Regions from separate parts of the Homo sapiens genome. Here regions 1, 2, 3, 4, 5 and 7 are each linked to region 6. The links are contacts of gene promoters, found by promoter capture Hi-C in human tissues and cell types (Jung and others, 2019). All regions are on one chromosome and are shown on one strand. Each heading gives the region's core, a stretch centred on a gene start or on the middle of the fragment in contact. The rest is flanking DNA. Distances are from core to core; before and after follow the strand shown.

Region 1 (3,404 bases), core at 387-2,886, 100 kb after region 6:
CCCCATCTCTACTAAAAATACAAAAAAATTAGTCGGGCATGGTGGCAGGTGCCTGTAATCCCAGTCACTTGGGAGGCTGAGGCAGAGAATTGCTTGAACCCGGGAGGCGGAGGTTGCAGTGAGCCTGGATCGCGCCACTGCACTCCAGCCTGGGTGACAGACTGAGATTCGTCTCAAAAAAAAAAAAAAAAGAATTGAACAAGGAGTTCAACAATCTTTTTGAAGTTAGGTTTTGAGGGTGTGATATTGGGATGTTGAATCATCAATTTTTTTATTGGTTATATCTGCACCTATTAGCCAAAGCAGGCTAAGAAATATATATAAAGGTGTTTCCCAGAGTGTGCTGCTTAGAACTCGCTGCTTCCAGGAGATGCTATGGGGTACTATGAGAACGGAAATTATGTAAGTAAATACATTTAGGAGACTTGAATTTTCATAGTGCACGTTTAAGTGTTAAAAGCTCCTGGAAATTCTTCAGTGGTAACAATTAATTAAATTTTTAAAAAAGTAACTTCGTTTTAATACAACATTTCCCCTAGTTTATTTAATCACAGAATCCTTTTTGTGTAACACTTATTAACATGCTGCAGGACTTTTATCTTCAGAATCATACTTCAGAAAATGCTGAATGAAACTACTTTAAAACAATATCAAAGACAATCTCAGTTTTCCTCGGTAACCACTCTAGGATTTACCAAAATTTCCTCTAAAAGAAATGTACTCTGATGCTAATTTAAGTATGTTACAGGCAGAGTCAATTTTCTGGTGCTACACATATGTAATGATAGATGTGACCAAATGTCATAAAGTGATTTTCATAGGACTTCTCTGCTAATTTCTACTTAGATGACTACAGGTCAACAAAATGGGGGCTATATGACACCTTATACACCATAGATGCTTAAATATTTCTAAAGGTGGCACACAGTTGAATATAACCACAAACACTCAAAGCTTTATACGTACTCAGTCAAGCCTCTGGATTGAATAGGTTTGTAGCAATCTGCCAACGACTCCTTCGGAAATCTGAGTGAATGATTTGAGGTGTTAAATCACCGATTATGTTTATTTCTAACACGAGCCCATTCAGTTTGGTTTCCTAAACACTTTTTGGAAGGATCCCTGTGAGATTCCAGGCTACATACCATTATTAGTTTGATACTTTAATGTTGAGATCTGTCCATAATATTTTAAATTTTAAGACAGTGTTTTTTTTTGTTGTTGCTGTTTTTTTCTTTTTTAACTTCTGGAACTCTACTCAGTAGCTTCATTATAGTCTAGATAACTAAACATCTTAAGTAAAGCTACATTTATGATTGCTAATGAAATTCTCATTCAATATCTGCATTACTTATATAGAACTTACTTCCAAAAAGCATTTGAAGAGGCAGCTCATTAAGGGCATTCTAAGAGTTCCCCTTTCTACTAATCTCCCTTTGAGGCCTATCAAATGTTAGGAAGGACACTCTAGTGCTCAAACTCTTTTACCCAAAGTGTTTACTTTCTGTATTTTAATAGCTTCTTCAGTTCCCTTGCCTGTCCCACATGGGTACATGAAGCCTTGTAATTGTGTAAATAAAGAGTAAAAACCTGCAATTATGATATAAATATGTACTCAAATTTAAAGCAACTAGTTATCAAAGACAAATGGATACAGGATCCTGCACCAGAATGAATCTGCTCAATATTGACATAGTGAATCGTCCTGAGAAGATTAAACCACAACTAGAAAAGCAGGCGGAGGGACAGTGAGTGACAGGGGCTTTATGGGGGGGCAGTGCCTCCCAGGGGGAGAGTTCATCTTCTTACTCAAAGAGACGCCTTCAGGGATCATGTAACTTGAATTCCCTGTGAATTCAGTGTCATCTTAGCTTGACCAGCTCTGGAAGAACATATTAACCTCCGCTTGTGATTTTCAGAAAACCATTCTAATTTAGCAAGTAATTAAGGGTCACATGTAGGACAAAGAGCTAGATAATCTTGGATTACCCACAGGAAGCTTTGTCTCCAAGGCAACCCCCGATGGAGGGGCTGTTAATGCGAAGGCCAGTCGGTTAATGAACTGGGAAAGGTAACTGGCTCCCAAACCTGTTAGAGCCAGGGAAATGGACATAACAATTATATGGCTATTGAATGACTCAGTGATAGAAAAGAAATGCTTCCAAAGCCAGTGGAGGCAAAACGTTTAGAGAAAGGATATAATTGTCACTGTTCTGCTAGACCAAATCCACAGATCTAAAATTAGCCTATTGTGAGTTCAAGCCAGGCCAATCTGTATTTATGAATTTTAGCCTAGTCTCCAGCTGAATCTTCTGGTTTCAGTGTTTCCTATGACCTAATTACCCCACAACCTGGTTTTTCCTGAGGGGCAGCCTCAGTTAGTACACTAGGCTGTGAGAGTGGCCCAAGGGAGTTTCGGAAGAGGAGACAAAACTTGTATTGTCCATCAGAGCCCTTGATACTCCATGCTGGGCTAAAAAATAAGATAGGGTTGCACAGAGAAGCACTATAAGAGGATTTTTAGACCAGGTTGGTAAAGGTGGAAGAGAAGACTGCAGGTGACCCAGTGACGGAGATGCTATGATAAGAGGAAAAGAAAAACAAAGGCATTCCCATGAGAAAACTTGAGAGGGACAGAGTGGAAAATTTAAGCGCCCTCGTCACTTCCTCAATGCTGCTCTCTTTTTTCTAATGGTCAAATTTAGGTCTTACATTCTCTACAAAGCCTTCTAAAACTCTACGAGCTCTTATTTATTTCCTGTCTTTGAACACTTACTGAACCACACTGCACACTTACCTGTATGTTCTCTTTCCATGTTCATTAAGAGTCTTGTGTACCTGGGTATTGTGTCTCTCGGCTTGTAAGGTAAGGGATCATGGGATATTCATTCAGCAGTCTCTAAATATTTACTAAGAATCTATTGTGAGGTGAGCACTATGCTAGCTGCTGGAGAAATAAAGATCAATAAAATACAGTGTCTGCCAGAAGGAGCTCATAGACTACTGAAGGATGCAGAGAAGCCAGCATGAAAGTGCAATAAATAAGAGTGACGTCTAAGCAGCTGGACATTCATCTGGTACAGTACATTCCTGGATATCGAGCAACAAGAAAGAGGAGCCGGAATGATTTATCGCCAAGGCCAATGTATGGCTGCCCATAATCACCAACTCAAGAAACAAGTGAAAGCAGAGAGGATTGAACTTCTGGGTTAAGGCAGAAAAGGATAAAAAGCAAAGACATTTTGGCAAAGACTGACTATGATTTCTTACCCAGGAAAATAAGACCAGTGTGGTGTGTTTTCAGCATCTGATGAGGTGCATGCCCTTTTGAGCTAATTCTTCCATCAGGACAGATTTGAGGGTGTAAGGAAGGCAAGTGATGCTAAACTGATCAGATTTAGACC
Region 2 (3,462 bases), core at 464-2,963, 71 kb before region 6:
CTAGCTGGTCACCATGGAAATGTGAAAGAGGCCTTGGTATCCACTTCTGTAAAATGGAAATAATAAGAGTATCTGCCTCATTGGCATGTGATAGGCTTTCAGAAAATACCAGACAAACTGTTAGTAATGATCAACTCTAGGGTGTCGGACATGAAGGAATGGGGAACTTTAATTTTTACCATATTCCCTTTCAGACTATATTTTTTATAGGAATGTTTAAACCGTCTTTTGAAAAGATGTTGTCTCAAAACTAGAAGCCATCTATTAACAGGTAACTACTCTTGGCACACCCTCAGTGTGATTGATGAGGATTAATGAAGGGTGAAGATATTTGTCAGTCCAACTGGGCCCATAAGACGCCTTGAGATTCTCCTCCCAGTAGAGGGAGGCCTTGGTCCACAAGGAAGTCATGTCCACTCACAACTGCAAACCTCTAGGCACGAATGACTCCATCCAACCTCCCCACACTAAGAAACCTGACCAAACTCTAGGATGGCTTCTATCAGCCCAAGACTGTGAGCCCAGTCCCTCTTAAAGTGCCTGCCTGAGAAGTCTCAAATACTGCCTAAAGAATTTGTTCCAGCTAAAACAACTATAGGCCCCTGCCCTCCTTTTGCTTAGAGCAGTTACTTTAGAAAACTTACAATTATAAATCCTTTCTCTGCCACTTTGAGATGTAAATCTCCTTCCACCCAGAATCTCCTTCCACCCAGAGGACCTGGGAACCATGGCTTTGAAATGCAAACATCTAGGGACATAGCTCCCTTGTCTCCCGGTCTCTGTGGGAGGGTAACAGACCAAATTCAGTGGGTGCCTTGCTCCAATTTGCAAAACTACCTCCTGCCATAAAGATATGAGATATTTGTTTCTCCTCCAGATAAGCACTAATTAACAAACACAGATGGCTAATCACATTGACCACCCCGCCGCCCCACTTTTACATTCTTCAGTACTTTTCCTTTAGCACAATCCAACCTACGGTTTAAAAAGCCTAGGCTGGGTACAGTGGCTGATGCCTGTAATCCCATCACTTTGGGATCCCAGGGCAGGAGGATCACTTGAGGCCAGGAGTTCAAGACCAGCCTGGGCAACACAGTGAGATCCCATCTCTCCAAAAACTAAATAAATAGTCTCCCATCTGTTATTTCAGTGGAGTTGAGTTTGGTTCTATACTAAAGTCCCTCTCTCCCCTGCTGGAGTAGACTGAATAAAATCAATCTTGCCACCTCTAACAGCTGTCCTGCTGTTTCTCTTTGACACCACTGATGAAGGAGGACTTGGTCCCTGGGAAGGCCAGGACCATGGAGGAGGATTTGGCATCTACCCAAGTGGTATTTACATTTACTAAACCTCTGCCTCCCTGTAAATACCAGGAGAAGAAGAGGGCAGAGGTGCTCATTATGCAAAAGACAACTGAAACGTGCAAGAGGGACTTTTCCTTCATATGAATGATAGGAAATCTTATTTATTGAGTACTTTGTAATGTACTGAGAAATATGCTAAGCTCTTAGTATACAGCATTTTATTGAATCCTTAGAACAACTTTCCAAGGTAGGTGTCATTATTTTCTTGGAATTCATACTTCAGAAAGATTAAGAAACTTGCTCCAGGTCACACATAAGCTCATAAGTAGCAAACCTAGGAGTCAAACTCCAGAGTCCCCGTTCTCCAGAAGCTTTAGTGTGACCTGGATAAAAAGCCTTGTAGCTGTGCAAATGAAGTACAGCTGAAATTTGTTGTTTATCTTAGAAAGTTTTCTTTCCATGGAAAGTAACTACATCTTAGTATATGGCACTAGTAATGGCATTACTAAAACAATAAGAATGACACACAGCTCTGTGGTGAAACACTCAGCTTTATTTTTCCCCAAGCTGGGTTTCAGGCCACTGAAATGGGTGACCATAGTACAGATCACAGAACCTTGCCTTCTTTTCTTCCTAGTGAGATGGCCAGGTGGGAGGGGGTCCCTGGCAAAACTCCAGCTGGCTTGCACAGTGGGGTGGAGCCTCCAGAAGCTCATGCCATTTGCAGTGGGTAAGAGCCTGGCCCCTCCTCTTCCTGCATAGAACCTGGGATTCAATCTGTAAGGTGGGAAGTGCAGCAGCAGAGAACTCTGGCCTTGCAGAGAGTCCCTGTTCCCACTTACTTTCCTTTTCACCAAATAAAACCCTGCTTTACTCATGCATCAAATTGTCTGTGAGCCTACATTTTTGTGGCCATGGGACAAGAACACCATCTTTAGCTGAGCTAAGGAAAAGTCCTGCAACATTTTTGGCACCCAACGTGGGGCTTGAGAAGTGGTGAGTGAGATGCAAACCAAGAATTCTTTTCCCCTCTCTCTTTGGAGCCTTTTCATCCTAGGAGTTCTGAGCTTATGGGAAATCACATTCCCAACTCCTGTCGCTCCCGGGGGTTAGGAGCCTTTTCATGGCCTTACCTTCCTTTTTCAGGATGGACCTGGTGAGCAGCCGGCTTGCCACTGCTCCCCGCTCCTTGCTGGGGCTGGGACCCATGGCCCAAGGGTCCCACACAGCCAGCTGGCTGGTTCCCAGCCACGTGCCATGCAGCCTTCCTCTTCCCCAGCCAAGGGATTTTACTCCATTGGACAGTAATTAAACTTTTCTCCTTGTGGAGAAACCAGTTACATAAGAATAAGAAGTTCTTCCCCAGGCATTTTTAAACTGTTTTTTTTTTCCTTCACCTTCTCCACCCCATCAGCAGTTACCATTTAGTGAGGTTTTTTCTTTCAGAAGAAGTTTTGCTAGGCTAGGAATGATAAGCGCCCCTGTTTATATTCTCCGTAAAGTTTTGGTTGTGAAAAAGGATCTTGTGGGGACTGGGTTTTCTTCTGCCTGTCAGTGTGTGTATTGTGTGTGATGTCTGTAAAAAGAGCTCTATTAATTTGGCCTAAAGAAAAACGAGTGCTTGAATCAAGCATTTTTTTTTTTAAGGGAAGTTAAAAGCTGTGGTACCTTTCAGTTCACATGACTTTAATCTTTGAGAAATAAAAACAGCTCTAAAGACTATTGGTAAAATGCAGGTCAGGTGCAAGGTTTGCTAAATGTTTTGAGGTTACAAACTGATTTTTGAGTTTGGGAAACTATTTGACTTGCCGGCTTCACAATTGGTAGGGCCTGGGGACATGTAGAACTAACCACACCCTTAATTAAGAAGGCAACTTTGGCTGCACTGAGCACACAATTAAAGCAACTTACCAGATTTTACCCCAAAGTTAAAAATTGCTAGGAGTTACCATTATAATGTATAATTGAAACTACTGAAAATAAATTTACATGCAAGGAGTGTAAGAACAGTAAAATGTGTTTTTTAGTAAAAGGTTACAAAAAGCCATGGAAATGTACATTTTTGCCTATGGTTAAAGGATTGTTTTGAGTTAGGAAAAGCTGAAGGTTCAAACAAGTGGTGGAAAGATTGTGGAAATTAATCTTGCAAAGGGGTTCT
Region 3 (3,788 bases), core at 681-3,180, 130 kb before region 6:
AGCTCTGCTTTTCCTACATCAGTCAGAGTTTGTTTTCAGAATAGAGAATAGTTTAAAGAAGAAAAGTCAATGACTCATAATTTCACTATCCTAAAATAGCCTCTCTTAGCGTCTTGGGGCATCTCTTTGTATTTGTTTTATCGTTTGGTGAGATCCTACTGCAGCTTACATTTTTCACTCAACATACTGTGTTTGGTCATGTCATTAAAGTTCCTTTTTATTTTCCTCCCCCAACCCAACCCGCTTTCTCCTCCACTCCCATTAAGTTCTTTATGCATTGTTTTAAATAGTGGAGTAATCTGCCATTTTCTTTTTTTTTTTTTTGAGATGGAGTCTTGCTCTGTCACCCAGGCTGGAGTGCAGTGGTGCAATCTCGGCTCATTGCAACCTCCGCCTCCCGGGTTCAAGCGATTCTTGTGCCTCAGCCTCCCGAGTAGCTGGGATTACAGGCACATGCACCACCATGCCTGGCTAATTTTTGCATCTTTAGTAGAGATCGGGTTTCACCATGTTGGCCAGGCTGGTCTTGAACTCCTGAGCTCAGGTTATCCGCCCACCTCGGCCTCTCAAAGTGCTGGGATTACAGGCATGAGCCACACTGCACCTGGCCCCACTTTCTACTCAGTTATTTCCATATTGTTGCTCATTTATTTCCTTTTCCACATTATTAGAATTAAGACTGTAATAAATGTCTTCGGGCCATAATTCTCAACCTGCCTTTAGTTTATACTGAATTCCTAGAAGTAGGATTATGGGCCAAGAGTAACCTCTTAATACTAATGCCAAATAGCTTTCAGAATGGTTTATCAATTTGTATCCCCATCACAGTGTATTCTTGCTAGCACTAAGTATTAGTATTAACAACAACAATAAAAAAACCAGACACTTTAAATTTCTTAGGCAAAGGCTAGGTGTGGTGGCTTACGCCTATAGTCCCAGCACTTTGGGAGGATTGCTTGAGGCTAGTATGTTCAAGACCAGCCTGAGCAACATAAAAAGACCCCATTTCTACCAAAGAAAAAAATTTAGAACTACCCAGGCATGCCAGCACATGCCTGTAGTCCAGCCACTTGGGAGGCTGAGGTGGGAGGATCCATTGAGCCCAGGAGTTTGAGGCTGTGGTGAGCTATGGTTGCACCACTGCACTCTAGCCTAGGCCACAGACTGAAACCTTGTATCTTAAAAAAAAAAAAAAAAAAAAAAAGTTGCTAGAAACAAAAAAAAAGGAAGGGGTTGCAAGGAGGGTAGAGGCAGGATTATTGGTTTGAACATTTTTTATGTTTATTTACTACTTGTATTTTCCTTTGGAAAATTATAGTTTTAAGCTTTTACCTTTTTCTGTTGGAATTTTAGTGTTTTTCTTATTGCTGATTTGTTTGCACTCACCATTAAAGATGTTTATTTTATCACTATTTATTCAACAAATTGAATACTTAACTTTTGCCAAACCCATGTTGAATCTTGAGGATACAGCTATGAGCAAGGCTGAAATGATCCCTACTTTTGTGGAATGTAAGGTCTAATGCAAAAGACACATTAGGTAATTATATGCTTAATTATGATGCTGATGAACGATACAAAGAAATACAGGATGCAGTGAGAATATATAATAGGAAGACCTAGGCTGGCCAGAGTGGAGATTGGCAAACCCCATTGCACCACCTGTTTTTGTAAAGTTTTATTGGCACACGGCCATGCTCTTTCTTTTACATATTGTCTATGGCTGCTTTCCCGCTACATTGGCAGGGCTGAGTAGTTTCAATGAGACTATGTGACCCGTAAACATAAAATATTTACTGTCTAGCCCTTTACACAAAAATTTGCTGATTTCTGGTCTAGCCAGTCAGGGCAGGGTTCTGTTGGACACTGACATTTAAAGGTGGATGTAAAGGTGAGTGTTTGGTAAACTAAGGGGTTCAGGGAGGGAGCCTTCTGGGTAAAGGCCCTGGGGTGGAAAGAAGCATGTGAGGTGGAAGCATGGACAGATACCACCAGTGCAGCTGGGGTGAGGCGAGCTTCACAGGCTGAAGCGGGGCTGCAGGGTTATATCAGACAGGGCCTTAGAGGCCATATTGTAGTTTAGTCTTCATCCTCAGAGTAGTGGGATGCAATCAAAGGGCTTTAGGCAGGGCATAGACAACCAGGTGACCAGATGTGCATTTGAAAACCAGTACAGTCAAGCACCATATAATGATGTTTCCATCAATGGTGGACTGCATACATGATGGTGGTCCCAAAAAATTATACCATATTTTTACTGTGCCTTTTCTATGTTTAGTTACATAAATACTTACCAGTGTGTTACAGTCGCCTGCAGTATTCAGTACAGTAGCATGCTGCACAGGTTTCTAGCCTAGGAGCAATAGGCTACATCGTATAGCTTAGGGGTATAGTAAGCGACACCATCTGGGTTTGTATAAGTACACTCTATGATGTTCAAACAACAATAAAATCACCTAACAACGCATTTTTCAGAATGTGTCTGTCATGAAGTGGCGCATGACCGCCCAGAGTGTATCACAGAGAATGGATCAGAAGAGGTGTGCATGGGCATTAGGAGACCTGTCATGAGGCTTCACAGCAGCCTGATGGGCCCCGTTGGTGATATGATGAGAGTGGCAGCAGTGGGAATAGAGAGACCTGGACAAACTCCAGACGTGTTTGGAAAGCCAGAATGTATAGAATGAATGGGTAGGGGGTGGCTCCAAACAGCAGGGTGATAATAATGTCATTTACTGAGAGAAGGATCCCTAATACTGAAAGCTTTTGGAGAAGGTAAGTTTAATTTTGACATGTTGAGGATGGGGTATCTTTAAAGACATCTAAGTGGAAACATCAGGTAGGCAGTTGGAAGTCTCTGAATTGGGAGTAGTTAGCCTGATGGGACCAATGCCAGCATTCAGGTAGAGGAGGAGATTCAGGTAGAGGAGGAGCAACTGGCAGGAAGACAAGAAAGTGGTGAGAAGTGGATGGCATGCCATCCTGGAAGGCAGGGGCTGAGGGTTCGAAGAAATGATCATGTGTGTTGAGAGCTGCTGGAAGGTCAGGTAAGGTGAGGGCCGACAGTTATCCTTTGGATTTAGTGAGCATGTGACTGACTATGTAGGTTGAGGACTGAATATAGATGGTGAAGAAGGGGAGCAACTTGGGGTAGACACTGTTTTGAGAAGAGCTGTGAAGGAGAAGAGAGTGTGAAAGCTGGAGGAGGATGTGAGGTGGAGGAAGGGTTTGCGATGGGAGAGTCTTTAGCTGATGGGAGGAGGAGGTATAGAGCCGTGATTCAACTTTCACTGCACCTCAGAATCACCCCACCCCTCCCAGTGATCCAGCTGGTCTGGGATGGACTTTCCAGGGCTTCCCCGATGATTCTGAGGTGCAGCCAAGGTTGAGAACCAATGGTATAGAGCAGTGGTTCTCAGCTGTGATTCCCACTCCAGCAGCTTTCGTGTCACCTGGGAATGTGTCTGAAGTGCAGTCCTCAGGCATCGCCAGCTGATCCTAGTGCACGCTGATGCTTGCGCTGCTGCTGTAAAGAACTGTCCGGACACTGAGAAGTCAGAACCACGTAGAACCACCTGGCAAAGTCTCCATTTGGACTTCCCGAGTGTCTTTCACTCCGACTTTTCCAGGCCTTGTGTATTTTAAACTGTATTTAAACTGTGTTTAAAACTGTATTTTAAGTTGTACTCAATGCTCAAAAAGAGTTCATACCACCACATTCCATCTCAGTTAATATTAAATTTGGATAGTTGAGGAAAATGATGTTGCCCAGAGCCACGTGATCCAGG
Region 4 (3,946 bases), core at 549-3,048, 78 kb after region 6:
CTAGGGAGTCATCATTACTCCCTTGGAATGGTTCATGCAGCAGAGGGATCAGACTTGTTCTCAGATCCCAGTGACAGCTAAAACCAAGAGGTTAAATTTACAATTTTATCTGCAGCTGGTTGAGAATTAAACAGATTGTCTCAACAAGTAGTGAGCTCCTCTTAATTAAATTAGTGAGGTATCTGGACTGTCACAGGTTAGCAGAGAACAAAAGTGACAGAAGTCATACTGACAAGGCAGAGAAGGAAAAAACTAAAAAGATGTACGTTTCTACTTTGCAAAATGTATATTTGAAGGAATGATCCTAAATTTCTTAACAGAATCTTAGAATCCTAGGCAAGCACAGGAATCCACCTGACACATGAATGCTTTTCTCATTATCCCAGTCAAGCAGTGGTTCAGCCTCTTCAATACATTTCATTTCTAATAATCCTCTCACGAGTCCCACCCTAAACAACAGTCACTGAGGTTCAGGGTGGTTGCAGGAGAAGGCCCAAGGCACCAGAGTAAGGGAACTTGAGTCATTACTTCTAGAGTCAAAATTTTGTCAGAGACTTAAGATTCAGTCACACAGGCAAAATGTTCTGGTATTCTGTCCAAATTTTCAGCAAGAGAATAAAATCTGTCAATATGAAGAGTTACTCTCTATATACTGTAGAATGGAAACATGTGAACTAAAAATTAGTTTAAAATAATTAATTTTAAAAGATCATTTAGCATTTGGTTCATATTAATATGTTTCCTGTGATTAGTAATATTCCTATTTCATTTTACATCATTTACAACTGGTCCTCCTCCACAGAGCCTTTTAAATTAGAATCAACAATCAGGAAGTTATTTGCCTTTGAGTCTTAAAAAGACTGTAGATTATTACATTCAAATTACAATACTAAAATCCTCCAATTGTTCAGTATTTTTTTCCTTGAATTCTAACAAACTGAAAATCCAGCATGAGTCTTCATTGTCTAGTTCCAATTATTTTTATTTATTTATTTATTTTTTGAGACAGGGTCTCGCTCTGTCGCCCAGGCTGGAGTGCAGTGGTGTGATCTCGGCTCACTGCAAACTCTGCCTCCAGGGTTCACGCCATTCTCCTGCCTCAGCCTCCCGAGTAGCGGAGACTACAGGCTCCCGCCACAAAGCCTGGCTAATTTTTTTGTATTTTTAGTAGAGGCGGGGTTTCACCGTGTGAGCCAGGATGGTCTTGATCTCCTGACCTCGTGATCCGCCCGCCTCGGCCTCCTAAAGTGCTAGGATTACATGTGTGAGCCACCGCGCCCGGCCCCAATTTTTTTTTAAAGGACGTAACACATTTCATTGTACTGTGAGTTAGCAGGAATGTTAGGAAGGACTGTAACTGAAAGCCTAGGTACAAACTGTCCACTGATTATTACTTCTTTATGAGATCATCAATAACCTTCCTTATTCACCTTATGGTTTCAAACCATTGTTAAAGACTACACTTGCAATATTTAAGATCTCTTGCTTTGGCTGTGTTTCCCCCACCAACAGCACTTATTGCTTTCAACCTCCTCTTACTTTGTTTTTCCCTCCAATGTGGAAACAACTGGGACAAGCTAGGGTGCAAGTACTCATGAAAATAAATACTTCTTGAGCACTTCACATTGGCACAATATTAGGAACTAGGAGAAATACAGGATATGCCTATTGTGAGAAGTTTACAATCATATTGATAAGAAGAGATATACATATAGTTAATAAGCAAATCAGTACAACATATCTCAAGGCCAAATAAGCATTAGAGAAAAAAAAATACTCTAAGAGTTTAGGAGAGACAGATCATTATGAGCTGTTTAGGAAATCTGATAGAAAAGGGATCTGAATTTGTGTGCTCAAAGCTAAGTATGACTTTAACAAGTAGAAAGAAAAGGAATTATTACCAGACTGAGATGTACAGAGAGGTGAAAACCAATAAGTAGCAGTCACGTGTCCAGCCAGTCTCTTCAAAACGTGTACCTGAAAACACTAGCTCCATGATCACTCATAGACATTAGGTGAAAAAAAATTCCATAGTTAAGTCAGTCTGGGAAATGTGAGGTCTAATAAAGGTTTATTTATCCTTTCTTTATAAAGGATCCTTCATAAAGAAATCTTTAATGTGCTAATATGCAGAGTAGTGACCAATCTCATCAATTGTGGAACCCTTTCTGGGGAGTACGTTTTGCAAGGCTATTGTTTTGGAGTGCTGCCAGGGCTCACAGCCTCACGGTGTTGGGTCACACGGACAGTCTGCACCCACCATGCTTGATGTCTGGGCTTTGCTACATGCAGGTAAGCAAGACTTACTGATGACTCTAATGAAACTGTACAGGGTGAATAATTATAGTGGAATTCAAACCCAAGCTAATTATAATACATTGGACACTTGCTCTATTCTAAGATCTCTAAATTAGCTTGGAATTAAGACTAAGCCAATACAGTTTTCCACAGAACTAACTTTCTCAGAGATTTAGACCCAGGAGTGTAAGTCTAGCTCATGATTTAGGTGAAAGAAAAATTCATACACTATTTTTTTTACTTTTAAGTATTATATAACCAGGTATTAATGGCATCTTTAAAAAGCAAAGTTTACAATGCATAGTGATCTTAGTTATCATAACTGCCAGTTAGATATCTCCACCTATATGTTATGCTAACCTCAATTTACCTACAACTAAACTCATTACCAACCCTCTGATTTCCCATTCCTCCCCCAAACAGATAAAACACAAACAAATGTGCTGCTTCTTTGCTAGTAAATAGTACCAATTAGCTGTCCAATTGGCTATATTCAGGAACTCTCCTTGACTCAACAACTGTGTTCACCCCTAACCCCAAGAAAACTGGTACTAAGAATACTGGGACCTAAGTCATCTTTCTAAATTGCAAATCTGATAATTTCACTTCCTGCTTAAAACCCTTTAAACATTTTTAAAAGCTTCTTATGGGTTAAACTACAGGAAGCTGTGCAAGGCCTGTTACTGCCCTTTCAACCTCACTGCTCACTGATCTCTTCTATCTCCCAGCCACACCAAACTACATGCCTTTCCAAAATATTTCAAGCTCTCTCAAGGGCCTATGCCTGCTTTCTGTGCTTGGAGTACACCCACTCACTCGCACACACACACACCCTCTTCCCCCAACTCCCAGGAACTTCCTGATCTCCCTGTAGGGCACAGCTCAACTCTGAGAAAATGTTCCTGCCCTTCCCCACCTCCACCTGGCAGTTACAGGATTCTAACCACAGGACCGCTTGATAGTGTCTGCAACGCAGCATTTATCACACAGCATAGGAATGATACATTTGTGTGTCCTCTGTTAGGCTATAAGCTCTCTGGGGAGAAAGTCCATCTGTCTTACTCATATTTGTATCCTGAAGGCTTGGAGATTATCCGTCTATCTATCTATCTACCTATCTATCTATCTATCTATAGATATATATATCTCTCACATGTGCTATACAGTAGGGGGCTTAAACATTTACTGACTAAATGGAAACATACCATCAGGGGTTTACAACAGATGACCACTTACACTGAGCTGTGAAGCCACCTCCGTTCTCTTAGAGTAACAATGAAGAGTATGTAAGCATATCCAAATTTAAGTGCATTTAATTTCTATCAAAAATTCAAAATGAAAAGTGATACTGTAACATTGTTTATTTGATTCTCTCTAAATAGATGTTACTTACTGTCAGTGTGTTCTGGTAATAGGTAATCTTTGCTCGGACAGGATAGGGTTTGTTGCGGAAGTCCCTCTGGCAACTTGCCAAAGCTTGACTAGCCCCGTCACTATAGTGTAAGGGGGAGGAAAACAGACAAGACACTCAGCTTTTCAATATTTAAAAATTCAGGAAGACTAAAATAATATCAAGTTATGAAAAAGTCTTGAGATACTTTATGTTATTTACTCAAAAGACTACACGAGACTACATGAGACTAAGGCA
Region 5 (3,942 bases), core at 1,110-3,609, 110 kb before region 6:
TTTGTGGTATGATATATCTTGAGATAGTTTGTTAAATTATTTGAAAAGTGTTTAATTATTAAAAATGGTGCATACTCCTCTGAAAAGTTGCAAAAACTCCAGAAGGGTAAAAGTTGAAAATTGCAAAAACTACAAAAGGTCTCTTTCTTCAGTCTTCCCTTTCTACTTCCCAGGGATACCCACCATTAAATTAGATATTTGCACTATATATAGTCCTGCAGAGAAAGTAGACCCTCTTTCAAGTATTTATCAAGCACTTTTACCCAGCCACTGTCTGATGTGCTGGAGGTACAAAGTCCCAGCCCTGACGGAGCTCACACTGGAATAGGAGGAACAGATAACACACGAGCCTGTGATTTCAGGTACTGGTCATTGCTGTGAAGAAAGATAAAGCATGTTAAGCAGATAGAGGGTGACAGAGGACACTGCTTTTCAGATGGAAGTCAGAGGAGACCCCTCCAAGGAGGTGACATTAAGCAGAGTTCAAAGAAATGAGAGGGAGTGGAGCACGTAAATCCCGGGAAGCGCATTATAGCCAAGTGCAGAGGCCCCGAAAAGGGAGCGCTGTTGGCGGGCTAGAGGGTTCTCACACTTTAAGGAGTACACAGCCACCTGTCTTCTTCACTGCTGATGTGGACTCAGGAGGTTTGGGGTGAGCCTGACTACGCACTTCTAACATGCTCCCAGAGGATGCTCATGCTGCTGGTGCCCACTTTGCACAGTGAAATGTTAGAGGAGTCAAAAGGAGGCCAGTGATGTTTTAAAATGCACTCTTCAGTTTTACAAAAATGTTCTCTTTTCACCAAATACAATGATGTTGACATCCTTTCAATCAGGACTTACAAATCTACCTCATTCTTTTACGTTTGTTCAATTCTGATCTAAGAATTTAGTGGCCCTAAAAGTCACTTAACCACCGATGTGGCCTCCAGTGAGTTACTTAACTTCCCTCAGCCTCAGATGGAGGATAAGAACTGCACTTACCAAATGGGGCTGTCATGAGCAATAAGCCGCATGGTCCTTGACATGTCCACAGTATCCGCTCGGTAGACGTTCCCTATTGTTGCTCATGTTTTCCCTTTCAGTGTAAACCTGTGTCACGCCTGTATGGTTAATTTTCCTGAGTGAGCGCCTGGCTTGGTAAGGACCAGCAGGCGTGATCCGCTGGGAACAGCTTGCCCTTTAATCCTTTCTCTCTACTAAAATAGGCTATTGCAACAATAATGGACCTCATCCTGTTGAAATCAGCAAAGTGAAAGAAAAAAAGATTTACAGAATACTTTCTAAAAACATTATTCTCTTGTGCCCTTTAATACATTGTTTTCTTAAGAAAAAATGGATTTTTTTCCCCTTACCTAAAACTGGTATTTTAAAATGTTGGGTCAAAATCATATTATTTTATCATCTTCTTGGGCTTCTGTAGTTAAATTTTTAAAAAACTCTTATCATGGCTAAGCTTTTTGGTAATTCTTTGAACATGCCTAACATTCTGAAATGAGCTTTGCAAAGACACCTAAGAACCCTGACGGGGCTCAGCCAGTGCCATTGAATTGTGGATTTTAGTGACAAAGATGTCTTTTGACCTCCCTGATGCTGTTGGTCCTTATAAAATGGGAGCGATGGCAATTAATGTTGGATTGAAGTTCTTTTATCTGGGGCTCTCAGTTGTAGCCTCAGTGTCTGGAATGTATCAACACGAACCAAGGATGTGTCTGAGCAGACAAAATCAGCACTAGAACATCCAAGCTGCTTGCAGTTTATTCATCAGGTAGAACCTCTTATTGGGAGCTTCTCAGTGTTCATGTGACACATTTCTCATGTGGTTACACAACTGCTTTTCCACTTTGCAACAGCTTAGAAGCATCAGAGTAGAGGGTTTCTGGTAGACAATGGCCAGACAGGTAATACCCACTGAGGAGGAAGAATACAAACTATAAAAAACAGATGCAAGGATTTCAGGATGCTGCCTGGTGTATCCACAAAGGCGACACTGTGTTATAAGAAGACACTTAGGAAGAAGTTAAATGGCGTTTGCCATACTGCATTTGAGATCAATTTAGGTTTTCATCCAGACTGGCAAGTTTCTACTACGGGGTAGGGTGAGCTTCAGTTTTTTCAAGAGGTGAGTGGTGGAACCTCTGGTTGATTTCCTAAGCCACAGGCCTGAGTCCTGCTCTTCTACCCCTTTACCCCTTGACAATTAATATGTTAACATTATGCAAATGCTAGAAAAATAGAGCTCCTGCAGACATGCACAAACACTCCAACAACCAGACTGTGGACACTAATCCGCCTGTCTATTGAGATTTTGGACCTGCCACTGTCCCTGCAAGTCTGGGCAAATGAAGCATTGTTGGCAAGAGGAAGAAGCCTAACCTTTCTAAGTTAGCAAGGTAAGAGAATCTCTAATTTAGAGGAAGCAAACTTGGGCATCTGTTCTTTAAAAAAACCTCCCTAGGTTACTAATGTGTGGTCAGTATTGAGAACCACCGAGAAACAGACGTCTGCACACATTAGTTGAGAATAAATGTGATTAGGATGCTTGACTGTTCACATCTTCCTTCTCGGCTTCATGAAGTTATTTTCAGATTGCATAAGGAAAAAACAGAAACACACTGCATCTATGTGTCATCCTCTCACCACCATTTCCCCCACTAAGATGATGCTAACCTCTGAATGGTCACTTGAGTTCTAGGTGAGCCTTCATCTTACAAAGTAGCCTTTGGCCCAGGGCACTGGGCGATCAACTTAGTCTCATCCTGAGATTCTGGGCTGAGATCCATCCTTTACCACTTGTGTTCATCAGGTTCTCTTCATTTCTTTTCTTTTTTTTTTGAGTCAGAGTCTCGCTTTGTTGCCCAGGCTGGAGTGCAGTGGCGCGATCTTGGCTCACTGCAAGCTCCACCGCCCGGGTTCATGCCCATTCTCCTGCCTCAGCCTCCCGAGTAGCTGGGACTACAGGCACTTGCCACCATGCCCAGCTAATTTTTTATATTTTTAGTAGAGATGAGTTTTCACCGTGTTAGCCAGGATGGTCTCAATCCCCCGATCTCGTGATCCGCCCACCTTGACCTCCCAAAGTGCTGGGATTACAGGCGTGAGCCACTGCACCCGGCCAGGTTCTCTTCATTTCAAATGAGGAGTATGGGGTGGGGTAGGATAGAAGGAGGAGTTGGGAGTCACACAATGATTTAAGCCCTGCCTCAACTTACCAAACAGGGAATCTTTAACAAATTCAGACTCAGTTTCCCTATCTCCAGAATTAGCATCAGGGCAGGTCAAGAGTTTATTGGATGCCTGGATTTAATCAAACAGAGCTTTACTATTTCTTCTTCAAGGTCACTTGAGTTTGAGCACTTAGAATTAATTAAAGCCTCCCAATCCTCTTGAACACTCTTCTCTGTTGTCTGTGGTCATAAAATTCTACTCAGATTTTCTCTGAATTTTAAATCTGCCCGCCTAGATTGTTGCAGACATATCCTATGGCAGGGACATTTTTTCCCCAGGGACCTTGCTTTTAGCTGCATGAAGCTTCAGGATGGTGCAGGGGGACAGAAACCTCTTTTACACTGAGTCTTGTTTCTGCGCCAGTTCTGTGCCGGCGGGGAGCGAACGCTACCTACACACGTGCTGTGGCCAGGCCTTCTTCTGTAGGATTCCCTCTGGCCTCCCTCTGTTCTTCATTCCATCACCCAAACACTGTCTGTCATCTGCCTCTTCTCAGGTTTAATGATTTCCCTACTAGTGTTTAGCTTCTGCCATACTGCAGGATATTTTCTTTAATAGGCCTTATTTTTTAGAGCAGTTTTAGGTTCATAGCAAAATTGAATGGCAAGTATAGAGGTTTCCCATATACCTCCTACCCCTACATAGGCACAGCCTCTACTACTACTTACCACCCCACTAGAGTGATTCATTTGTTACAATCAATGAACCTACACT
Region 6 (3,737 bases), core at 1-2,500:
CATCGAAGATCTGTGCCTCTCCCTTGAGACTCTGGGCATGCCAAGTCGAGGAAGGACAGTAATAAATGCATGGACACCCGTGAATTCCGAGAAGCATTGGCTGCAATTTGGGCCTCGGGCCCTCCCAGATCCCAGTTCCTCAACCTGGGCGCTTTACCTGGACCCGGACCTCTGGTAGGTTGACCTTGCCGGCCAGCTCCTCGCGGCTGTACACGTCCGGGTAGTGGGACTTCTCGAACGCGCGCTCCAGCTCATGCAGCTGGTACGTGGTGAAAGTCGTGCGGTTCCGCCGATGCTTTTTCTTGGGCTGTTCCTCCTCTGACAGTTTCGCTTCGCCGGTGGCTGGCCCGACGGGCAGCCCTGGGCTCGGCCGTGCCTCCCCGGGCTCCTTGGGGCAGTAGGGTCGAGGGGCTGGGGCGACGAGGCCCGGGAGGGTCAGATGCACTCCCCAAAACACCCTTGGGCCGACCCCGCCTCGCTGTGGGCACTGGCCAGCCCGCCTGCGGGCTCCGAGATGGCCCGGGGAGGTCCGTGGTGAGGGCGGCGATGGGTCCTAAGCTTTCTCTGAATGCAAATTGGAAGCTCCCGCCATAGACGGTCCCCAACCCCGCGCCCAGTTGCCTTAATAAAAGTTAAGGAAGGGGCGCTCTCGTCTGGCCAACTCCTAAGCTCGGGCGCCCGAACGGCCTCGCACAGCCAGGGGTGCGCACTCACCTTCGTACTCGGGGGCGGGCGCCGGGGCTGGCGGCGGGGAGGGCTCGGAGCCTTCCTCGGGCGCCTTGGGGCAGGCGGGCCGCGCGCCCAGCCTCCTATCCCGCTCCTTCGCGCCCCGGGCGCCCCGCTCCGCCGGGAAGGTGCCGAGGATCCCGTCGTCCTTGGTAAACCCCAGGATGGCCTCGATGCTGTGAAGTCGCGAGGTGCTCCCGCCCGGGCTGCGGAGCAGGTGGCCGGCAAGCGAGAAGCTCCCGTCGGCCATGGCTGGCGCGCAGCCCGGCAGGTGCATGGGGAGCGCCGGGAGGCGGGAGGGCGCTTTGGAGACGGAGAGGAGAGGCTCGAAGCCGGGTCTTCCCGAGTGCGGCGGTGCAACCCGACGGGTCCCGACCCTAGGTCAAGCTCCGCGGGCGAAGCCCGCCCGGGCTGCGCACGCTGGGGGTGGCCGAGCGCTCAGCCCGCTGCCGCCTTAGTCCCAGAAGTCGGAAGTTCGGGCTCGGGGTAGCTGGGGCTCTCGGCGCTAAAGGCGGGGAGCCAACTGGCCCTCGGCTCCTCCCCTCTCGCCCTGGACCCAGCCCCTTCTCTCGGCCCCTCCCTCCACAGAGGGGCGTGTCCTCACCCGGCCCAGCCACAGGGTCCTCTAGTGGCCACCCCTGGGCCGGCACTAGGAATATTCCCCTTCCACCTCTTGATCCGTTTTAAGCTTTACAAACACACTCCGGGGATCCGCGGCGGGATGCCTGATGGGCTCGGGAACCTGGTCGCGGCGCACCCCTAGTCCTGCCTCAGTGGGGCCGACGCCCTTGGGCTCATCTCTCCCCTTGCGTTTGTCTCCCTCTACTTCGGGCTTACCCTCTCACTTCAGACTACCCCCTGGGGGTCACCTCCCTCCTTGGACGCACCCCTCCCCAGCTTCAGACTCGCCCCTCTAGCCCCCTCTGGCTCACCTCCGCGGGGCCGCCACCCTGGCCTGTGCCCCCTGGAAGCGCCGAGACCCAGCCGAAGGCTTCCCAGCCCCGCACTCGTCGCAGTTTGAATTTCCCCTCGCTGGCTCCCTTTTCGGGACCCACTCCTTTCTTGGCTGGGTTGTACGAAGTCCCGGACCTCGCGTTTAGTTTGTCCGTCTATATCTGTTGTAACTCCTCCCAGTCCCCTCGGACTTGAGCGCCGGCAGCCTCCCTCCTTCCCCGCAGCGCCCACCCCAGGGCCATTTATGTCCGCAAGTCCGGTGACCTCTAGCGCCCGATCGCCCAGCAGGAGACTGGGAGCCCCGAGTCGGATGTGCTGCCGGGCTCAGGTCCCGCAGGAGACCCACCTGGAGTTCCTCGCTCCCGCCCCTTGTCCTGCGGGGAGGGCGGGCTCCTTTACTGATGAGCAGCGGTGTCGCACTCCCGCCTCCCTCCAACACTCCGGGCCAAGGAGATGGCCCAGAGCTGGCTGGGGAAGGACCTTCTCCCGGGGAAGAGGCCTCTCGCCTCCCCGAGGGTTCAGGAGTAATTGGCTTGCAGTTCTTTCTCCTTTGGACCCCCTCGAGGCTTCCGTGGCCCACAGTGACTGATCGGCCACTTGGAAAGATGATTGGATAGGGTGAGTGTGTTTCACCTCCAGCAGCGCGGATGGACAATGGCGCTGTGAACGTCTCACCCCTCAAATCTGAGGCGAGACCCGAGGCGAGCGCTTGGCCTTCCCTGAACTGGTGGCCTGAACCGTGAATTAAAATGCTTTCCTATAAAAGCTCAAGGACCTAGAGGACAATATCCCTAAAATCTCCTTTTCAGTAGGCGCTCTGATCTCCACAGCAGGGGTGTCTTCTTTATCCCGCTTGCGTTCAGACAAGCGTTTGCTGCGTCCCTTTAGAGGGCAAGGCAACCGTCGAGGGCCACGTCGTGGGCATCAAACAAATTGGGAAAGGCCAGGGCCGTTGGCCTGGTGGAGTTTAACGTCCAGTCTGGAAGACAAGACAAAGGAAGAGGGAAAACACACATCCTCAGATCCCCAACCTTTAAATTGGTGTTAGAAGGATGTTTGCGGAGGACAAGTCAATTTCTTAAGGATCATTCAATGGTTAATTCCCCATGATGGGCATATCTACTTTTAATAAAACTATATAATGGCAAACTAAAATAAGGGCAAGCATGTGACTGCAGGAGATAGAAATTGAACTAATTCAAGTCAGAAATTATCTTTTAAGAAAAAAGCTAAAATTAATGAAAGTTAATAGCACTTTACAGTGTTCACATATTACTTTATTTACTTATTATTTATTTGTCTGTTTATTTTAGAGACAGGGTCCCTCTCTGTTGCCCAGGCTGGAGTGCAGTGGCATGATGGTGGCTCACTGCAGCCTGGAACTCCTGGGCTCAAGCAATTCTCTCGACATGTCACTTTGTAGGTTTCAGAATCTTCTCACATTCTTCATGTCATCTGATCTTCACAACCTTGTGAGGTGAGCAGGACAGACATATTGGTCCCCATTTTACAGAAGAGGAAACTGAGGCTCAAAGTGATACAGCTATTAAGTGGAAGGGTCAGGACTAGAACTCAGGCCACTGACTCCTTGTCCAGTGTTTTCTGCCTGCAGCTCATTTGTAATTATTATTGTAGTGTGTGATCTTTTTGAAAAGAATCAAAGCCCATCTTAGCCTGCAGTCTGTCTTTAATCCTTCCCTGAGACTGGATTCTGCATCTAAGAGGCGGAGGTAGAAGCAGTTTAGCTCCCAGAAGAAATAAAGTCAGAGCCTATAGAGAGTGGGCTTTGGGTACCGGCATCCAGGGCAAATTAACAAACCCTCTGGAAAGTCCCCTGACAGACCAGGTTTTGCCTCCTCCTCCGCCCCTCCTCCACCTTTCCAGGGCCCACAAATGGCCTGGTGGCACCCGAAAAGGTCTGACTGCCAGTGACATAGACCAGGTGGCTGACGTGCTGAGGTGGTGGTGATCAGAGGGCAGCTGTGGGGATAATTAATTGGTATTTGTTGTTCCCCCTCTGACCGAGAATGCTTTTTATGCAAACTTCCCCAATATTA
Region 7 (3,780 bases), core at 771-3,270, 91 kb before region 6:
ATATATTTAAAGTCTGCATGAAAGTCAGTGGCCTTTTTTCCTCAGAATTTGCAAAAGTGTGTTTTCGATGGGCTGTTTCAGAGTTTTTTGATTATGATAGCTTAACATATGACGTTTCTAATTTCCTTATGTTATTGTCCTTCAGAAACACTGGCTCTATCTCCATTTTAAAATTCCACACAAAAAAAAAGACAGGTAATTTGCACATTTAGGAATGTATTACCCAGTTTTTAAATGGTCCAGACATTTGAGTTTTCCTGATACCTGCTTCTGGCTAATGTATGCAAAAGAAGAAGAGCGAAGGGAGATAAAATTCAAATCGATATACTTTGTACCCACTTATGAAAAGCTCTGGTGAAAAATATGTGGACCTGAAAGAATGCAGAGGTGACTCTCTATTGCTACTCACCCTGAGGCCTTGGGGTTCTCGGTGATGGATTCAGGGCTTCTTCTCTGGCCACTGTTGGGTGATATTGGTGATATACACACAGGAGGTTAATTTGTTGGAGCCAAAAACTACGCATGAGTACAACAATAATAAATATTACTTTAAGTTAAAAAATGAATCCCGGCCAGGCACGGTGGCTCATGCCTGTAATCCCAGCACTTTGGGAGGCCGAGGTGGGTGGATCACCTGAGGTCAGGAGTTTGAGACCAGCCTGACCAACATGGTGAATCCCTGTCTCTACTAAAAATACAAAATTAGCTGGGTGTGGTGGCGCATGTCTGTAATCCCAGCTACTCAGGAGGCTGAGGCAGGAGAATCGCTTGAACCTGGGAGGCAGAGGTTGTGGTGAGCCGAGATCACGCCATTGCACTCCAGCCTGGGCAACAAAAGTGAAACTCTGTCTCAAAAAGTGAAAAAATAAAATGAATCCGTCTGGCACAGTGGCTCACCCCTGTAATCCTAGCGCTTTGGGAGGCCGAGGCGGGCAGATCACTTGAGGTCAGGAGTTTGAAACCAGCCTGGCCAACATGTTAAAATCCCATCTCTACTAAAAATACAAAAATATTAGCTGGGCGTGATGGCGGGTGCCTTAATCCCAGCTACTTGGGTGGCTGAGGCAGGAGAATTGCTTGAACCCAGGAGGCGGAGGTTGCAGTGAGCCAAGATTGCACCATTGCACTCCAGCCTGGGTGACAGAGTGAGAATCCATCTCCAAAAAAAAAAACAAATCTATCCATAACACCTCATTTTTACTGTCCAGTACCAAGGCGTTTTGGTGGTTTTCCTGTGTGAGCCTGCAAATTAATTATGGGTCAGCATGCACTAGAACACTACCTGGTTCCTGCAATATGCGAAAGTAAAACCTCCCCTGTGTGGGAATTTAAGTCGATCTTTGCTTGCTGAAAGGGTAGCAGTGACTTTAATAAACACCAACTCTTTTTTTTTTTTTTAAGAGATGGGGTCTCGCTCTGTTGTCCAGGCTGGAATGCTCATTGCCAGCCTCAAATTCGTGGGCTCAAGTGATCCCCCCACTCAGTACCTGTGACTACGGGCATGTGCCACCATGCCTGGCTAATTAAAAAAATTTTTTTTGTAAACACAAGGTCTGGCTTTGTTGCCCAGGCTGTCTTGAACTCCTGGTTTCACGTGATCCTCCTGCCTCGGCCTCCCAAAGTATTGGGATTGCGGGGGTGAGCCACCATGTCTGGCCCAAACTTTTTTAGACCAATGAATATCTTGCCAAAACGTGTAAATATTAAATAACATGAATTAATGAATGTAATCCTTTAATTTCCCAGTCTTACACAAAGCCTGGTGTCTTTAGCTATGACATTTAAGTAGCTGAAATCAAATATATAATTAAATTCTGCAAGAAAATAAAACGGAAACTCAGATACCTTGGAATAATTACACTGAAGATGTTAGCAATTCTCTGTCTTGTTATTATTGGAGTTGGCCCTTAGGAATGCTTTCCTCTGGCTGGGAATACCAGCTGCAAACATAAAATCTCACTTGGGACTACTCCTTCCCTTAAGGGTAATTTGTCCCAGCTGTAATGTGGGTAGCATTAGAGAAGTCAGGTTAAATTTTGCACAGAGGAGATTAAAGGCTCAGGATAGTGATATATAGGATATATATTTTGATGGAGGGTTGGGAAGATGTGGTATAAGTGCACTTGGAGTTGCTGCAATACCATCCTGAGTGCCTGGGGAGAGTACCAAAATGGGGAGGTGATTGGATGCTGGTGGCAAGAATAACGCTTTGAAGACATTCTGTCTCATAAGCGCCACCTCTGCACCAAACACTAGCAGATGCTGCCCTGCGGGGCTCTTGGTTATAACAGGCAGAGCTAGTCTGGGGTTCAGTTCCTGGGGAACTGCAGGGATTAAGAATGCTATGAGAGGCTGGGTATAGTGGCTCACACCTGTAACCCCAGCACTTTGGGAGGCCGAGGAAGGCAGATCACTTGAGGTCAGGAGTTTGAGACCAGCCTGGCCAACATGGCGAAAAGCTGTCTTTACTAAAAGTACAAAAATTAGCCAGGCATGGTGGTGTGCACCTGTAATCCCAGCTACTCAGGAGGCTGAGGCAGAAGAATCACTTGAACCGGGAGGTGGAGGTTGCAGTGAGCCGAGATGGTGCTACTGCTCTTTAGCCTGGGCGAGAGAGTGAGTGAGAGTCTGTCTCAAAAAATACAAAAATAAAAAATAAAAAGAAGAATGCTATGAGATAGGGAAATGGAACCAGGGTCTTGGACTGAATGCAAAGCAGGAGTAAGCTTCCCCCATGTGAATAAAAAGGCTGGAAAAAGCTGTAGCAAGAGTTGATTAAGGTTCTGTTTTTTTTCATAGCTGCATGCCCAAAAAGGAAGGTAGGAGGACATTAACACATCCTTTCTCACAGGACCTTCGCTACGCTGCTACCTGATTCTGTGTCTGGCTTTGCAGTATCTCAAGGCTTTTATAAAAGCTGGTTCTGGACTGTTTACTATGGGGACGTGGAGAGTCGGTGGGGACAGCAGCAAAGCCACCAGAGAAGCCTCCTAGAAAAGATGAAACTACAACCCAAAATTCGGAACTTGAACAGGAAAATAAATACCAGGAAGATCAATTTAATTAACTGACTCCCTTGGAAATTAAAATATTAATTAAAAGTTTAAAGGATTTTAAGTCATTATGTTTAAGATTGTTAAAGGCAAATGAAGGAAAACCAACTATAAAAATCAACATTAATTAGGCACAAATGGATGAAAAACAGGAGTGTATGAAAAACAAGGAATTTGAAATCTAGGAAATAAAAGTATGCTGATGATAATTAAAGACTCAAGGGATAGGATATACTAGACTAGATACAGGTGAAGAGATAACTAATACATTCAAGGTAACACTACGTAATGCTCCTGAGTGCAGGCCAGAGAAACGAAGAGACACAGAAAGAAAAAACAAGAAACAGGTAGACACAGAAGCTAGAGTGAGAGACTACAACATGCACCAATAAAGAGTCAAGAAAGTACAAAAGAGGAAATTCCAGAGAAGCATTATTTGAAGATCTTATTCCAGAATACTCCAGAACTGAATAAAGTCATGAACCCTCACCATAAAGATATTCTGTATGTACTGAGAAAAGTAAATAAAATTAAATCTTTACCTAGACATATCTGTGAAACTGAAGAACATCAATGATAGAAAAATCTTTGGAGTCATCAGGGAGAAATGACTTGTTACCTACAAAGTGGCATTTAGGTTAAAAGACGACTTCTTGGCCAGACACTGTGGCTCACGCCTGTAATCCCAGCACTTTGGGAGGCCGAGGCGGGTGGATTACGAGGTCGG

What was found. The method cuts DNA at HindIII sites, captures the fragments that hold promoters and counts their contacts. A contact is called where the count stands out against the background at its distance.
Region 1: a fragment that was not itself captured here is called in contact with the fragment with the promoter of RAX in region 6 in 4 of the 25 tissues and cell types used here (H1 embryonic stem cells, mesendoderm cells, neural progenitor cells and 1 more).
Region 2: a contact is called between a fragment that was not itself captured here and the fragment with the promoter of RAX in region 6, in 2 of the 25 tissues and cell types used here (mesendoderm cells and thymus).
Region 3: a fragment that was not itself captured here is called in contact with the fragment with the promoter of RAX in region 6 in 3 of the 25 tissues and cell types used here (IMR-90 fibroblasts, aorta and spleen).
Region 4: a fragment that was not itself captured here is called in contact with the fragment with the promoter of RAX in region 6 in 3 of the 25 tissues and cell types used here (liver, mesendoderm cells and thymus).
Region 5: a contact is called between a fragment that was not itself captured here and the fragment with the promoter of RAX in region 6, in 5 of the 25 tissues and cell types used here (heart left ventricle, liver, lymphoblastoid cells and 2 more).
Region 7: a fragment that was not itself captured here is called in contact with the fragment with the promoter of RAX in region 6 in 2 of the 25 tissues and cell types used here (mesendoderm cells and thymus).

What each region holds. Positions count from the first base shown.
Region 1 is chr18:59,374,769-59,378,172 of GRCh38, forward strand. No RefSeq gene overlaps it. Among named protein-coding and RNA genes, the nearest start is that of LMAN1, 17 kb to the left of the region's middle. The HindIII fragment of the contact is 3,110 bases long and covers 82-3,191 here.
Region 2 is chr18:59,200,586-59,204,047 of GRCh38, forward strand. No RefSeq gene overlaps it. Among named protein-coding and RNA genes, the nearest start is that of GRP, 18 kb to the right of the region's middle. The HindIII fragment of the contact is 3,947 bases long and covers 1-3,462 here.
Region 3 is chr18:59,143,546-59,147,333 of GRCh38, forward strand. The region is part of intron 1 of SEC11C (SEC11 homolog C, signal peptidase complex subunit); the gene reads left to right. Among named protein-coding and RNA genes, the nearest start is that of SEC11C, 5.6 kb to the left of the region's middle. RefSeq lists an enhancer at 998-1,047. The HindIII fragment of the contact is 4,425 bases long and covers 1-3,788 here.
Region 4 is chr18:59,349,511-59,353,456 of GRCh38, forward strand. LMAN1 (lectin, mannose binding 1) reads right to left here. Exons shown (of 13, transcript NM_005570.4): 5 at 3,692-3,791. Among named protein-coding and RNA genes, the nearest start is that of LMAN1, 7.8 kb to the right of the region's middle. The HindIII fragment of the contact is 6,352 bases long and covers 1-3,946 here.
Region 5 is chr18:59,159,152-59,163,093 of GRCh38, forward strand. No RefSeq gene overlaps it. Among named protein-coding and RNA genes, the nearest start is that of SEC11C, 21 kb to the left of the region's middle. The HindIII fragment of the contact is 5,175 bases long and covers 1-3,942 here.
Region 6 is chr18:59,272,204-59,275,940 of GRCh38, forward strand. It overlaps RAX (retina and anterior neural fold homeobox), which reads right to left and starts at 1,251. Exons shown (of 3, transcript NM_013435.3): 1 at 715-1,251; 2 at 158-411. The coding sequence starts at 1,003. The HindIII fragment of the contact is 4,384 bases long and covers 987-3,737 here.
Region 7 is chr18:59,180,923-59,184,702 of GRCh38, forward strand. No RefSeq gene overlaps it. Among named protein-coding and RNA genes, the nearest start is that of GRP, 37 kb to the right of the region's middle. The HindIII fragment of the contact is 3,497 bases long and covers 273-3,769 here.